Regions from separate parts of the Homo sapiens genome. Here all the other regions are linked to region 4. Evidence: promoter capture Hi-C in 16 types of primary human blood cells and fetal thymus (Javierre and others, 2016). All regions are on one chromosome and are shown on one strand. The core of a region is centred on a gene start or on the middle of the fragment in contact, and the rest is flanking DNA. Distances in the headings are between cores, read along the strand shown.

What was found. The method cuts DNA at HindIII sites, captures the fragments that hold promoters and counts their contacts. A CHiCAGO score of 5 or more calls a contact.
Region 1: a contact is called between the fragment with the promoter of NLRC4 here and the fragment with the promoter of TTC27 in region 4, in 1 of 17 cell types (monocytes). The highest score is 5.3, in monocytes.
Region 2: a fragment that was not itself captured here is called in contact with the fragment with the promoter of TTC27 in region 4 in 3 of 17 cell types (total CD8 T cells, naive CD8 T cells and fetal thymus); the score reaches 5.7 in total CD8 T cells.
Region 3: a fragment that was not itself captured here is called in contact with the fragment with the promoter of TTC27 in region 4 in 2 of 17 cell types (non-activated CD4 T cells and total CD8 T cells); the score reaches 5.8 in non-activated CD4 T cells.

Annotation. Positions count from the first base shown.
Region 1 is chr2:32,263,039-32,266,363 of GRCh38, forward strand. NLRC4 (NLR family CARD domain containing 4) reads right to left here and starts at 1,848. Exons shown (of 9, transcript NM_001199138.2): 1 at 1,700-1,848. The HindIII fragment of the contact is 10,627 bases long and covers 1,621-3,325 here.
Region 2 is chr2:32,283,357-32,286,263 of GRCh38, forward strand. The region is part of intron 1 of YIPF4 (Yip1 domain family member 4); the gene reads left to right. Among named protein-coding and RNA genes, the nearest start is that of YIPF4, 6.9 kb to the left of the region's middle. The HindIII fragment of the contact is 1,189 bases long and covers 688-1,876 here.
Region 3 is chr2:32,370,339-32,373,602 of GRCh38, forward strand. All of the region lies in intron 1 of BIRC6 (baculoviral IAP repeat containing 6), which reads left to right. Among named protein-coding and RNA genes, the nearest start is that of BIRC6, 15 kb to the left of the region's middle. The HindIII fragment of the contact is 2,286 bases long and covers 314-2,599 here.
Region 4 is chr2:32,626,218-32,629,317 of GRCh38, forward strand. It overlaps TTC27 (tetratricopeptide repeat domain 27), which reads left to right and starts at 1,833. Exons shown (of 20, transcript NM_017735.5): 1 at 1,833-2,163. The coding sequence starts at 2,076. LOC124905985 (a long non-coding RNA gene) reads right to left here and starts at 561. Exons shown (of 3, transcript XR_007086273.1): 1 at 416-561. RefSeq lists enhancers at 1,033-1,694, 1,413-1,472, 1,695-2,354, 1,883-1,942 and a silencer at 2,193-2,322. The HindIII fragment of the contact is 6,273 bases long and covers 1-3,100 here.

The DNA of each region.
Region 1 (3,325 bases), core at 598-3,097, 360 kb before region 4:
TCTAAAATTGGCATTTTCTTAAAAAAGGTTACATGAGCTCCTCAGAGAACTGAAGTTTCTCTGGACCCATATAACCCACGTCTATGGGGTCATTCCCACACCTCACAGATAAAATAAGGGAAAGAGTACATATAATTAGGAGCAGACAGGAAGCACACAGAAATGGAAAATGTGTGTGGGCTTTGGCATTGCAGATCTGAATTCAAATCCTCACTCTGCACCTTATGAGGTAAGTATCCCTAGACATGTTACTTAGCCTTTCCGAATCTTGCTTTCCAAATCATGCATAATATTCACCTCCCTGGACTATTGTGAAGATTAAACATGAAAGTAGTTGTGACAAAGATGGTCAGTGGGTATTATCTGTCTTCCTTTCTAGTAAAAAGGCTCTAGACTAGAATGTTCTTAGGTCTTTAATAGGCTTCAGCAATCTCACATGTTAATATTAGTGTTATGTGCTGAACTGGGCTTCCCCCAAATCCATATGTTGAAGCCCTGAACCTCAGAATGTGACTGTATTTGCAGACAGAGCCTTTAAAGAGGTCATTAAGCTCAAATGAGGCTGTTATGAGAAGAGGAAATCGGGACACACAAAGGGAGATACCAGGAATGTGCATACAGAGAGAAAAGGCCAAGGAGGGAGGCGTGGGGAGAAGCCAACCCTGCTGACACCTTGGTCTTGGACTTGCAGCCTCCAGAACTGTGGGAATATAAATTTCTGTTGTTTAAGCCACCCAGTCTATGGTATTTTAAACACATTAATACGACTAATATTATAAAAGTGTGTGAACAGTTAAGAAGTGTGCTGACCAGGTTCTATCCTAGTTTTGTAGACAATTAGCAGTGTGATGTAGGGCAGGACATTTAACTCCTCTCTACCACATTTTCCACCTCTCAAAGCCAGGCTGCAAGGATCTACTGAGATAATGTACATAAAGACCCTATCACGAAATAGGTGTCCCGTAAAGGGTGATTTCCTTCACTTCTGTCTCCAAATATCAGGTTTCTCATCAGTAACTTGGGAGATTGGATGGACTAAGTAGTCCACCTCGTTCCTTTCAGCTTTGATCATCTGTGATTCTAACAACAGTCTTAGCAACAAGAGTGAGTTTCCTGGCCGGGCACGTTGGCTCACACCTGTAATCCCAGCACTTTGGGAGGCTGAGGTGGGCAGATCACGAGGTCAGGAGTTGAGACCAGTCTGGCCAACATGGTGAAACCCTGTCTCTACTAAAAATACAAAAATTAGCTGGGGCGCGGTGCCGGGTGCCTGTAATCCCAGCTACTTGGGAGGCTGAGGCAGGAGAATTGCTTGAACCCAGGAGGCAGAGGTTGCAGTGAGCCGAGATCACGCCACTGCAGTCCAGCCTGGGTGACAGAGCAAGACTCTGTCTCAAAAAAAAAAAAAAAAAAAGAGTGAGTTTCCTTTCTGTAATGCCAAAAAGTGTTTCCAAAGTCCTTTCCATCTCACAGTAGTCCAAGGGGTACATGTACCCCTTGAACCTGATGAAGCCCCAGCAGACCCGATTAACCACCCCTAAAGGTTTCTCGGCAGGCAAATCCAGCCAGGCATGCAAATCACACTCGTCAATGTTAAGGCTTTTGTACATCCCAGACACAAGCTTTAAATGAATGTAAACCCAGATTTTAATATTTGGGCCCCAGACCTTAAAAATCCCATTCTCTCTACCCACAGTACCTGGCTGAGCAATCCAATTGCCCTCTTCTTGGGAGACCAAGACATGTTTTTAAAATAAAGTTTCTTTGTATTTGCTTTCCGTTTCAGTGAGGCCTCGAGTTCTTGTAGACCAGATACCTTCTTGTTCTGTGAGAGGACAGTGTACAGAGAGGGGAACTGCTGAGCAGTTCCTTTTTTTTTTTTCAAAGCACAGTAAGAGTGGTTTGGACACAAGTACTACCAGTTCAGAAAGGGAAGATGGGTGTAGGCAGGAGTAGCCGGGGAAGAAGTAGAACTTCAGAGTAAAAGATGCAAGAGCTAGAAATTCCGTCAAGAAAGGAATTACTCATTTGTTTCCTGTTTGTTCACAACATATGAATTCATTGCTGTTGAGTTACTTATTCTATACCTTAAAATGAAACAAAGTCTTCTGAACATCCAACATATATTTTTTTTCTTTTTCTTTCTTTTTTCTTTTTTTTGAGACAGAGTCTTGTTCTGTCACCCAAGCTGGAGGGCAGTGGCACAATCTCAGCTCACTGCAACCTCTGCCTCCCGGGTTCAAGCGTTCCTCCCGCCTCAGTCCTCCCAGTAGCTAAGACTACAGGCGTGCACCACCATGCCCGGCTAATTTTTGTATTTTTAGTAGAGACAGAATTTCACCATGTTGGCCAGGCTGGTCTCGAACTCCTGACCTCAGGCAATCTGCCAGCCTCAGCCTCCCAAAGTGCTGGGATTACAGGCGTGAGCCACCATGCCCAGCCACAACATGTATTTTTAATGCTTAACCATGGGAGATAGAGCGGTAAATGAAATGAGCCAGCTTAGTTGGCTAAAGCACATTGCTACTGCATTCAAGGTCATGCTTACCCCTGTACCTTGAATCCCAGAGGACTTCCAGCAGATGTGTTCTCTCAGTCAGCAGGGTTCTGGGCAAGGTCACACAGGGCAAACAGATCACCAGTTTTGGTCCACTCCACCGATGACGCACGGGGACACCCTCCGGAGTATAAACAGCCAGGGGCTTGCACAGGCACACTCACATTGGACGTTTGTGTTCACAGACTCCAGGAGGCCAGCTTATACTCAGCTGAGGACTGAAGAAATCTCTCTGCACTTCCCTTGAGGATGACATTCTTGCATACTCTTTCCTCTGTCTTTGCATAAACTACCAGGAACATGTCTTTGTGTTACATAACTTCTTATTTCAAAAAGAGCATTCTGACAGTAGCCTATCTGCCATAGAGGGATACCAAAGTTTCCCGGCAAATAAATGTCTACATCCTGGGTTTTCTAAGGGGGCATCAGTGTCAGTGTTTCCCAACTTGTGAGGTGGGTTTCTCTGAAGTGAGATTGAGGGCTACACTATCAGCTAGATTTTTAAATTGTAATGAAACCTATATATAAACATATGTTCAAGAGAAAAAACTGCAAAGACAGCCACCAAAATAGTAATGATGCTTATTGCTGGGGAATACAATTATAAGCAATTTTAAATTTCTGTCTTTGGCTTATCTGTATATTCTAATTTTATTTATCAACTTATTTATTTTTTATTTTATTTGTTTATTTATTTATTTATTTATTTATTTGAGACAGAGTCTCGTTCTGTTGCCCAGGCTGGAGTGGAGTGCAGTGGCTCAATCT
Region 2 (2,907 bases), core at 32-2,531, 340 kb before region 4:
GATGTTTTCAGTGTATAACCTTCCTTCTAGATTCTGTCCAAATCCCTCATTCTTAATGATAGCTATCCTTACTATTTCTCCACACATACCCTTTATTCTAAAATGTGCTTTGGTGTTTTGTCTCCATGTGGATGCAGATTCTGATCATCATGCTTAGAATGTCTTTCTCCTCCTCGCCTTAAGTTAAAACCTAAGACTGAACTCAAATGCTCTTTCCTTGGTAAAACTTGCTTTAACTGTCCCTCAGAAACGGAAACTTCCTAATATTTTCTATACCCCAGTACCTATCATAGAACCCATGGTATAAATATCACAAAAGAATTATTTGTTGAATAAATTATTTTTGCTTTCATTTATCTCATGTCTTTTTTTTTTTTTGAGACAAGAGTCTCGCTGTGTTGCCCGGGCTGGAGTGCAATGGCGCAATCTTGGCTCATTGCAACCTCTGCCTCCCAGGTTCAAGCAATTCTCCTGCCTCAGCCTCCCAAGTAGCTGGGATTACAGGTGCCTGCCACCATGCTCGGCTAATTTTTGTATTTTTTTAATAGAGACGGGGTTTTACCACGTTGGTCAGGCTGGTCTCAAACTCCTGACCTCAAGTGATCCGCCCACCTCTGCCTCCCAAAGTGCTGGGATTGATTACAGGCATGAGTCACCACGCCAGGCCTAATATCACTTCTTAATTTAAGCTTTATGGTATTGTTTGCCCTTCCATCAATTAATTCATTCAATAAGCATGCACATTTGTTGATTGCCTACTATGGATCAGGCACTATTATAAGTACTGGGGATATATGTACCAAGACAAATGCCACCAAAAATCCCAAATAGTCTCTCCTTTCATAGATTTTATAAACAACCAAGTAATTACACAAATATATAATTATATATAGTGATAAATATCGTGAAGGAAAAGTGGAGGGAACTGTGAAAGGAACTTACATAGTCTAGTCTGCAGGATCAAGGAAAATTTGCTTAAGCGAGTGTAATGGTTTGGATTTGTGTCCCTGCCCAAATCTCATGTTGAATTGTAATCTTCAGTGTTGGAGGAGAGGCCTGGTGGGAGGTGACTGGATCATGGGGGTGGACTTCCCTCTTGCTGTTCTTGTCATAGTGAGTTCTCACAAGGTCTGGTTTTTTAAAAGGGTGTAGCACCTCCACTGTCTGTCTCTCCCTCCTCTGGCCATGTAAAACTGCCTGCTTCCCCTTTGCAATCTGCCGTGATTGTAAGTTTCCTAAGGCATACCCAGCCATGCTTCCTGTAGAGCCTGTGGAACTGTGAGTCAAACCTCTTTTGTTTATAAATTACTCAGTCTCAGGTAGTTCTTTAGAGCAATGCAAGAATGGACTAATACAGCAAGTATATCTGAGAACTGAAGAATGGATGGCATTTAATTATCTGAAGTTGGAGGAAACAGCCTGGCACAAGGTCCCTGAGACAAACAGAATCCAGGTTCATTCAGAGAAATGAGAGGCTTAGTGTGGCTAGGGTATAGAGTCCAGATTGAGAGGAGAGCAGGTAAGTGGGCCTGGATAAGATAGGGCATGTAGAGATTATTGGACTTGAGCTAGAAAAGCAACTGGGGGAGGGAGATGAAGGATTCTAAACAAAAGAGTGAAATATTTGCATCTTAGAAAGAGTCTCCGGGGTACAGTGAAGAGTATGGATTGGAAGGAGACAAGAATGACTGGGGGGAGGGCAGTTTGTACACCATTATAATCATGCAGACAGGAGTTGATGGTTTGCATGAGCTTGCTACTGGTGGTAGAAATGGTAAGTGGACAGACATTTAAAAATATTTAGAGGTAAAACTGACAATTTAGTGGTGGTTTGGATGGAGAGGAAGCATGCAAATAAAGCAAACTGTCAAGGATAAGCTTCTAGCTTACAATGCTGGATAGATTAGTAGTATCATTTAATGAAAAAAATGGAGGAAGACCTGAGATATATCAGTTTTGGAATATTGAATTTTAGATGCCTTTGAGATAGATGCAAGGAAATGTTGACAATAGGTTATATAAATCTAGTGAAGAGGACTGGACTCAATATATTGCATTTCAACCTTGGCCTTCTTCAGTCTTTTTATCCCTATATAAAAATTATAATACCTGCAGCTCACAATACAGTGATCAGTAAATTGTAGATAATTACTATCAGTGTTCTTTTGAGTGATACTTTTCTGTCACTCTGTTATTGTGACCATTTCAGCCTATTCTTTGTTTGAAATTCCCCCTTCCCAGAAAGGATGTCACCTCTAATACAAGTTAGTAATGTAGACAGAGGAATCTTTAGTTTTTCCTTTTTTTTTTTTTTTTGGAGACGGAGTCTTGCTGTGTCACCCAGGCTAGAGTGCAGTGGTGCGATCTCAGCTCATTGCAACCTCCACCTCCCAGGCTCAAGCAATTCTCCTGCCTCAGCCTCCCAAGTAGCTGGGATTACAGGTGCTCGCCACCGCACCCGGCTAATTTTTGTATTTTTGGTAGAGATGGGGTTTCACTGTCTTGGCCAGGTTGGTCTCGAAGTCTATGATTCCTACTTATGAAAAATAATATCCATATAGGTCTAGTCTTATCACAAATGTTTTCTATACAATATGCTGGTGAAGTATGATATATAGTATGTAATGGGTGCAAGAATAACTTTTATTTCCTTTTTGAAAACTGAAAATGACATTTTAGCCAACCTTTCTTAGGGGAGTTAAACAAGGTTTACTTTTTTCATTAATTAATCTACTTATTTGCATGAGTTTTAAAACTCATAAGGCATTACACAAATCTACAAATGTGATTAAATTGCATAGAACTATAAACACATATACACACACACAAATGAGTGCATGTCAAACTGGTGAAATCTGAATAAGGTCTGTGGATTGTACCAGTGTCAGTGTCCTGAATTTGATAGTT
Region 3 (3,264 bases), core at 207-2,706, 260 kb before region 4:
GGTTAATGTGAATGAAGAGAATCATAACTTGGAACTCTTAATTCCAGTAATTTTGTATCTTTTGGAGAACCTCTTCTGTGCTTAAGTAGATGTTGGTTCTCTTGCCTGAAACAACACTGTCCCTGCATTGTGTTTTATGTTGTATTTTATCATGTGTTACCCCTTTCTTTGTGGTGCAGTCACTGACCTTTCCCAAACTTGTTTTGCAGTGAGTTCTGCTTCATAGGAATACTCATTTTGGCTTTTAATACTATAGTGTTACTAACATTTTTTCTCTTATTAAATGATTTCATTTTTGGTTAATTATATCAAAAGCTTTGTGAGAACCTTACATTAATTTTGTACCTTCTTTTTAAAAAATTTTAAAAATTCTTGTGGGTACATAGTAGGTGTATATATTTTTGGGTTACAGGAGATGTTCTGATACAGGCTTGTATCTTCTTTATTGACTTTGAATGATCTTTGCATATAGTACCTTTTAATAGGCTATTTTAAAATAGCGTTGAAGTCTGATGAGATGTCAGTGGAAATGGAGTTTTACAGTGTATTGTCAGTTTGAAAAGATAATGTATTTCTTGTAACATTTTTGCAAGTTTTTTAGGGTTGTACATTATTTCTTAAAGTATTAGAATTGGTAACTAATTAAAATTTCTTTCCTTTGAAATTTTCAATTTTGCCATCCTGGGCAACATGGCAAAACCCTGTCTCTACAAAAAATACAGAAATTAGCCGGGCGTGCTGTCACACACCTGTAGTCTCAGCTACTTGGGAGGCTGAGGCGGGAGGATTGCTTGAGCCTGGGAGGCAGAGGTTGCAGTGAGTTGAGATTGCGCCATTGCACCACTCCAGCCTGGGCAACAGAGTGAGACCCTGTCTCAAAAAAAAAAAAAAAAAAAAAAAAAGGAAATTTTCAGTTTTAAAAGGGACATACCTTATAGGATGTTAGACAGACTAAGGAAAAAGTAAGTACGTATAATTTCATTACCTAGAGATGGGCATTGTTAACATTTTGGCATTTCTTTTTACTTTCTTCTATTAGTATTATTTTTTTTTGGAGACAGAGTCTCGCTCTGTTGCCCAGGCTGGAGAGCAGCGGTGCAATCTCAGCTCACTGCAACCTCTGCCTTCTGGGTTTAAGTGAGTCTCCTGCCTCAGCCTTCCGAGCAGCTGGGACTACAGGTTCATGCCGCCATGCCCGGCTAATTTTTTGTATTTTAGTAGAGACAAAATACAGGGGTTTCACTGTGTTACCCAGGCTGCTCTCAAACTCCTGAGCTCAGGCAATCCGCCCGCCTCGGCCTCCCAAAGTGCTGGGATTACAGGCATGAGCTACCATGCCTGGCCTCTTCTATTGTTTAATATATTTTTATAGAATTTGGATCATAGTGATGTGTTATGAACTACCCCCTCCTTAGTTAATAGCATAGTTAATAGGCTATTGCTCCATGTGTACATGTTTATTCTTTTTTTGTTTGTTTGTGTTTTGAGACAGAGTCTCACTCCGTCACCCAGGCTAGAGTGCAATGGCGCGATCTCGGCTCACTGCAACCTCCACCTCCCTGGTTCCAGTGATTCTTCTGCCTCAGCCTCCTGAGTAGCTGGGATTACAGGTGCCTGCCACCGTGCCCAGTTATTTTTGTATTTTTAGTAGAGACAGGGTTTCACCAGGTTGGCCAGGCTGGTCTCGAACTCCTGACCTCAAGTGATCCGCCCGCCTCGGCCTCTTGAAGTGCTGGGATTACAGGTGTGAAGGCATTGCGCTTGGGTGTGTTTTTTCCTTTACAATATCATTTAAAAATTTTTATTTTTTATAGAATATAAAGTAAAGTTGTCTATTTTTTGTGTACTTGTCATACAGGTACACACATGCATAGATTGATGTAACCCACCATCACAGTCAGGATACAGACCAGTTTCAACACCTGAAAAAATTCCCTGTGGTATCACTTTGTAGTCACATCTTCCCTTTACCACTAATCTTTTGGGACCACTGATCTGTTCTCCATACTATGGAGTTTTGTGTTTTCTACATTGTTACTGAAATGTAATCATTCAGTATGTAACCTGTTGATGCTAGCTGCTTGCACTTAGCATGATGCCCTTGAGATTCTGTCAAGTTTTTGCATGTATTAATATTTCATTCCTTTTTTATTACTGAATAGTATTCCATCGTATTGATGCATCATTATTTGTTTTGCCAGTCACTCTTTGAAATATGTTTGGGGCTGGGTGTGGTGGCTTATTCTGTAATCCCAGCACTTAGGGAGGCTGAGGTGGGCACATCACTTGAGACCAGGTTGGGCAACATGGCAAAACTTTGTATCTACAAAAAATACTAAAAATTAGCCAGACATCATGGTGTGCGCCTGTAGTCCCAGCTACTTGGGAGGCTAAGATGGGAGGATTACCTGAGCCCTGGAGGTCAAAGCTGTGGTGAGCAGTGATTTCGCCACTATATTCCAGCCTGAGTGACATAGTGAGACCTTGTCTCAAAAAAAGACAAAGAGAAAGAAAAAAAAACATTTGGGTGTTTTCAATGTTTGATGATTATAAATAGAGCGACTATAAACTTCTGAGTATAGATTTTTGTGTGAACATAAGCTTTTATGTCTCCAGGGTAAATACACAGAAGTGGGATTACAGGGCCATTTGGTAAGTTTGTGTTTAACTTTGTAAGAAACTGTCAAACCAGTGTGGCTGTACCATTTGTATTTCCTTTAGAAATGTATGAGAGTTCCAGTTGTTCTGCATCCTTGCCAGAACTTCATACTATCTTTATATTGTTAAGATATCTATACTGCCCCAAACAATTTGCAGACTCATTGCAATTTGCAGACTCATTGCAATTCCTATCAAAATCCCAGTAACTTTTTTCTATTTCTGCAGGAAAAAAAAAAAATCTGTTCTAAAATTCATATAGAATCTCAAGGGACCCTAAATAGTTCAACATAATCTTGACAAAGAACAGAGTTGGAAGATTAACACTTGATTTCAAAATTTAGTATGAAGCTACAGTAATCAATATAGCAAAGTACCAGCATAAAGATGGACATATAGACTGAAGGAATATAGAGCCGAGAAATAAACTATTGCATATATGGTCAAATGATTTTCAGCAAGGAGGCCAAGACCATTCATTGGGGGAAGCGACAATCTTTTCAACAAATGTTGCTGGGAAGACTGGATACTCACGTGCAAAAAGTATAAAGTTGGACTTTAACACCATATACAAAATACAACAACGGAGAATAAGTGTTGGTGAGG
Region 4 (3,100 bases), core at 583-3,082:
AATTTAACTGAAAGTTGCAAGTTTACTATGTGGATTAACGGGGTGCTACATACAGGTGAGGAACTTTGGCAGAGCGGCCAGTGTGTTTTTACAGACGTTCATCTTTAACAATTATCAAATTAGTTTAGACAGTGCTGGCTTTTATACTTAAGGAAATGAACAGACAACCTGGTCAAGTATCATTTTCTAGAAAAATAGTGGGGTTTTTTTTGTTTGTTTATTTTTTTGAGACGGAGTCTCGCTCTGCTGCCCAGGCTGGAGTGCAGTGGCGCGATCTTGGCTCACTGCGACCTCCGCCTCCTGGGTTCAGGCCATTCTCCTGCGGCAGCCTCCTGAGCAGCTGGGACTACAGGCGCCCGCCACTACGCCCGGCTAATTTTTTAAAAAAATATTTTTAGTAGAGATGGGGTTTCACCTTGTTAGGCAGGATGGTCTCCATCTCCTGACCTCATGATCCGCCCGCCTCGGCCTCCCAAAGTGCTGAGATTACAGGCGTGAGCCACTGCGCCCGGCCTGAAAAACAGTTTTTAATTACTTCTCAGTGGGAGGACATTTTAGGGCATCCGCTCTTCTCCAATCACAGTCAGGTCCGGCTTCCTTTGGTATCTGATGGCAATGGCTGAAATGAGCTGAGCTGAGTTCCTCTCCCTTCACATTCTGGAGTGGCTCTTTACTGAGTAAGAAAGTGAATTAACATTTATTTAGCTTCTTCCTTGGAGCTGGGTACCGGGTCAGCCTCTTTTCAGAGAGCTTTTGCTCTTGTGGTCAGAGTTACCCTGCAGTTTTCTCCTGGCTCTTACATGACATATCTCAGTACAGGTGTCAAGCCAATGGGACAAAGCCATAGTCCTGTTTTCCTTCCCTCCTTCCCTCCCTCCCTCCCTTCCTTCCTTCTTCCCTCCCTCCCTCCCTCTTTCCTATTGCCCAGGCTGGAGTGCAGTGGCACCATCTCAGCTCACTGAAACCTCCGCCTCCCGGGTTCAAGCAATTCCCCCGCCTCACCGTCCCGAGTAGCTGGGTTTACAGGGGTGCCCCACTACGTCCGGCTAATTTTTGTATTTTTAGTAGAGACGGGTTTCACCATATTGGCCAGGCTGGTCTCGAACTCCTGACCTCAGGTGATCCATCCGCTTCATCCTCCCAAAGTGCTGAGATTACAGGCGTGAGCTACCGCGCCCGCCCTCTAACTGTTTCTTTGGAGTGCTGCTAGGAAGATTCAAAGAAGTGCAAATAAGGTACCAGCGGAGGCTGGTTTGTCTCCTTGCAATTTCTTTGTGATCACCCCTGGGATCACTCTTCTACAGCGTTCCGACAGTGTTCCAAAAACTTCCCTGCACCAGCGGCAGGGGCAGATTTCCCACCCGGCCATGATTCATGTAGAGCAGTGTCAAAACCAGATCCTTTCCTTACACGCTCATTCGCCGAAAGACCCATGCTATGCTGACGGGGTTCCAACCTGGGCTTCACCGACTCCACGTCAGAGGGTCTGTGATTCCCTGAGAGGGTACCCTTAGGCTGAGAGCAAGGGCCCACCTGCACTCTGCGCGAAGGACTGTGGTTTTCATCGGGTTGTCGAGAGCGTTCTAACCCAAAATGCTTTAAGAATCACAACTCTAGCCCTTCTAATCAAACTGCTTTGGCCAAGACGTCCGTTTTGAGTTGCATTTGAACCCTAGCCCTCGGTGGGAGGCACACTCACTTCCACGTTCACAGTTCTTGGAAGCGGTCCCACTGGGGGCGGGGCTGAGCGCGACCGCGCCCTCAACTCCCCCTATTGCCCGCCCCGGGGTGGGGCATAACCACCCAACAGGCTCCTTACTCAAGCTCGGGTTCTTCTCCTAGGCGGAAGCCAGACCAGAGAGCGTGCGTGTTTTTCCCAGGGTGCCCCGCGCTGCTGTTATGGCCGCCTCCTTGAGGTAGTATCCGCACATGGAATTCTAGGGCCGCAGGTGTATTTACGGTAACTGTCGCCACTAGATTTCAGCGCCTTTGGACTCTCCTGTTTTCACTTTCTTTTGTTGACTCCCGTGTGGCCCTCGTGGGAGCCTGTTTTGGCTGCAGCGGTGTCTGGGGTGATGTGGACCCCGGAGCTGGCAATTCTGAGGGGATTCCCCACTGAGGCTGAGCGGCAGCAATGGAAACAGGAGGGGGTCGTCGGTTCAGGTGAGAGGCGCACCTACCGGGCCTTAGGCTATCGTGGGAACTGTGAGGAAAAGGGATGGCAGCGACTGATTCTCATCCCTCCCTTCATTTTTCCCTAACACAGTCTAGCTGATTCCTTGAGGCTTTGGGTCGTTTAGTCTTTGACATGGTGGGCGTGGTCCTCACTTTCTTTGCGCAAAACTTCTTACCGCCCAGGTTCAGTAATAATGACAATGGCAATGTCAGTTATTTTTCTAAGCCCTTAACATGTACTCAGTCATTTAATGCTTATAGTAGATACTTAAGGTAGATTCAATTTTTAATCCCATTTTGCGGTGAAGATCTGTAAATACAGTTGGGTTAAGTAATTTTATTTTATCTATTTATTTATTTATTTATTTATTTATTTATTTATTTATTGAGACGGAGTTTTGCTTTTTGCCCAGGCTGGAGTGCAATGGCGCGATCTCGGCTCGCTGCAACCTCCGCCTCCCGGGTTCAAGTGATTCTCCTGCCTCAGCCTCCAGGGTAGCTGGGATTACAGGCATGCGCCACCACGCCCGGCTAATTTTGTATTTTTAGTAGAGTCGAGGTTTCACCATGTTGGCCTAGCTGGTCTGGAACTCCTGACCTCAGATGATTCGCCTGCCTCAGCCTCCCAAAGTGCTGGGATTACAGGCCTGAGCCACCGCGCCCGGGTCTGGTTAAGTAATTTATTTAAGGTCACACTGTTGGTAAGCAGAGGAGCTAAAATGAGGCAGCAAAGTTGTTTTTTTGGGGGGATGGAGTCTCCCTCTTGTTGCTCTGGCTGGAGTGCACTGGTGCCATCTCGGCTCACTGCAACCTCCGCTTCCCCGGTTCAAGCGATTCTCCTGCTTCAGCCTCCAAAGTAGCTGGGACTACAGGCATGCACCACCATGCCCGGCTAATTTTGTGTTTTTAGTAGAGACGGCTTTCA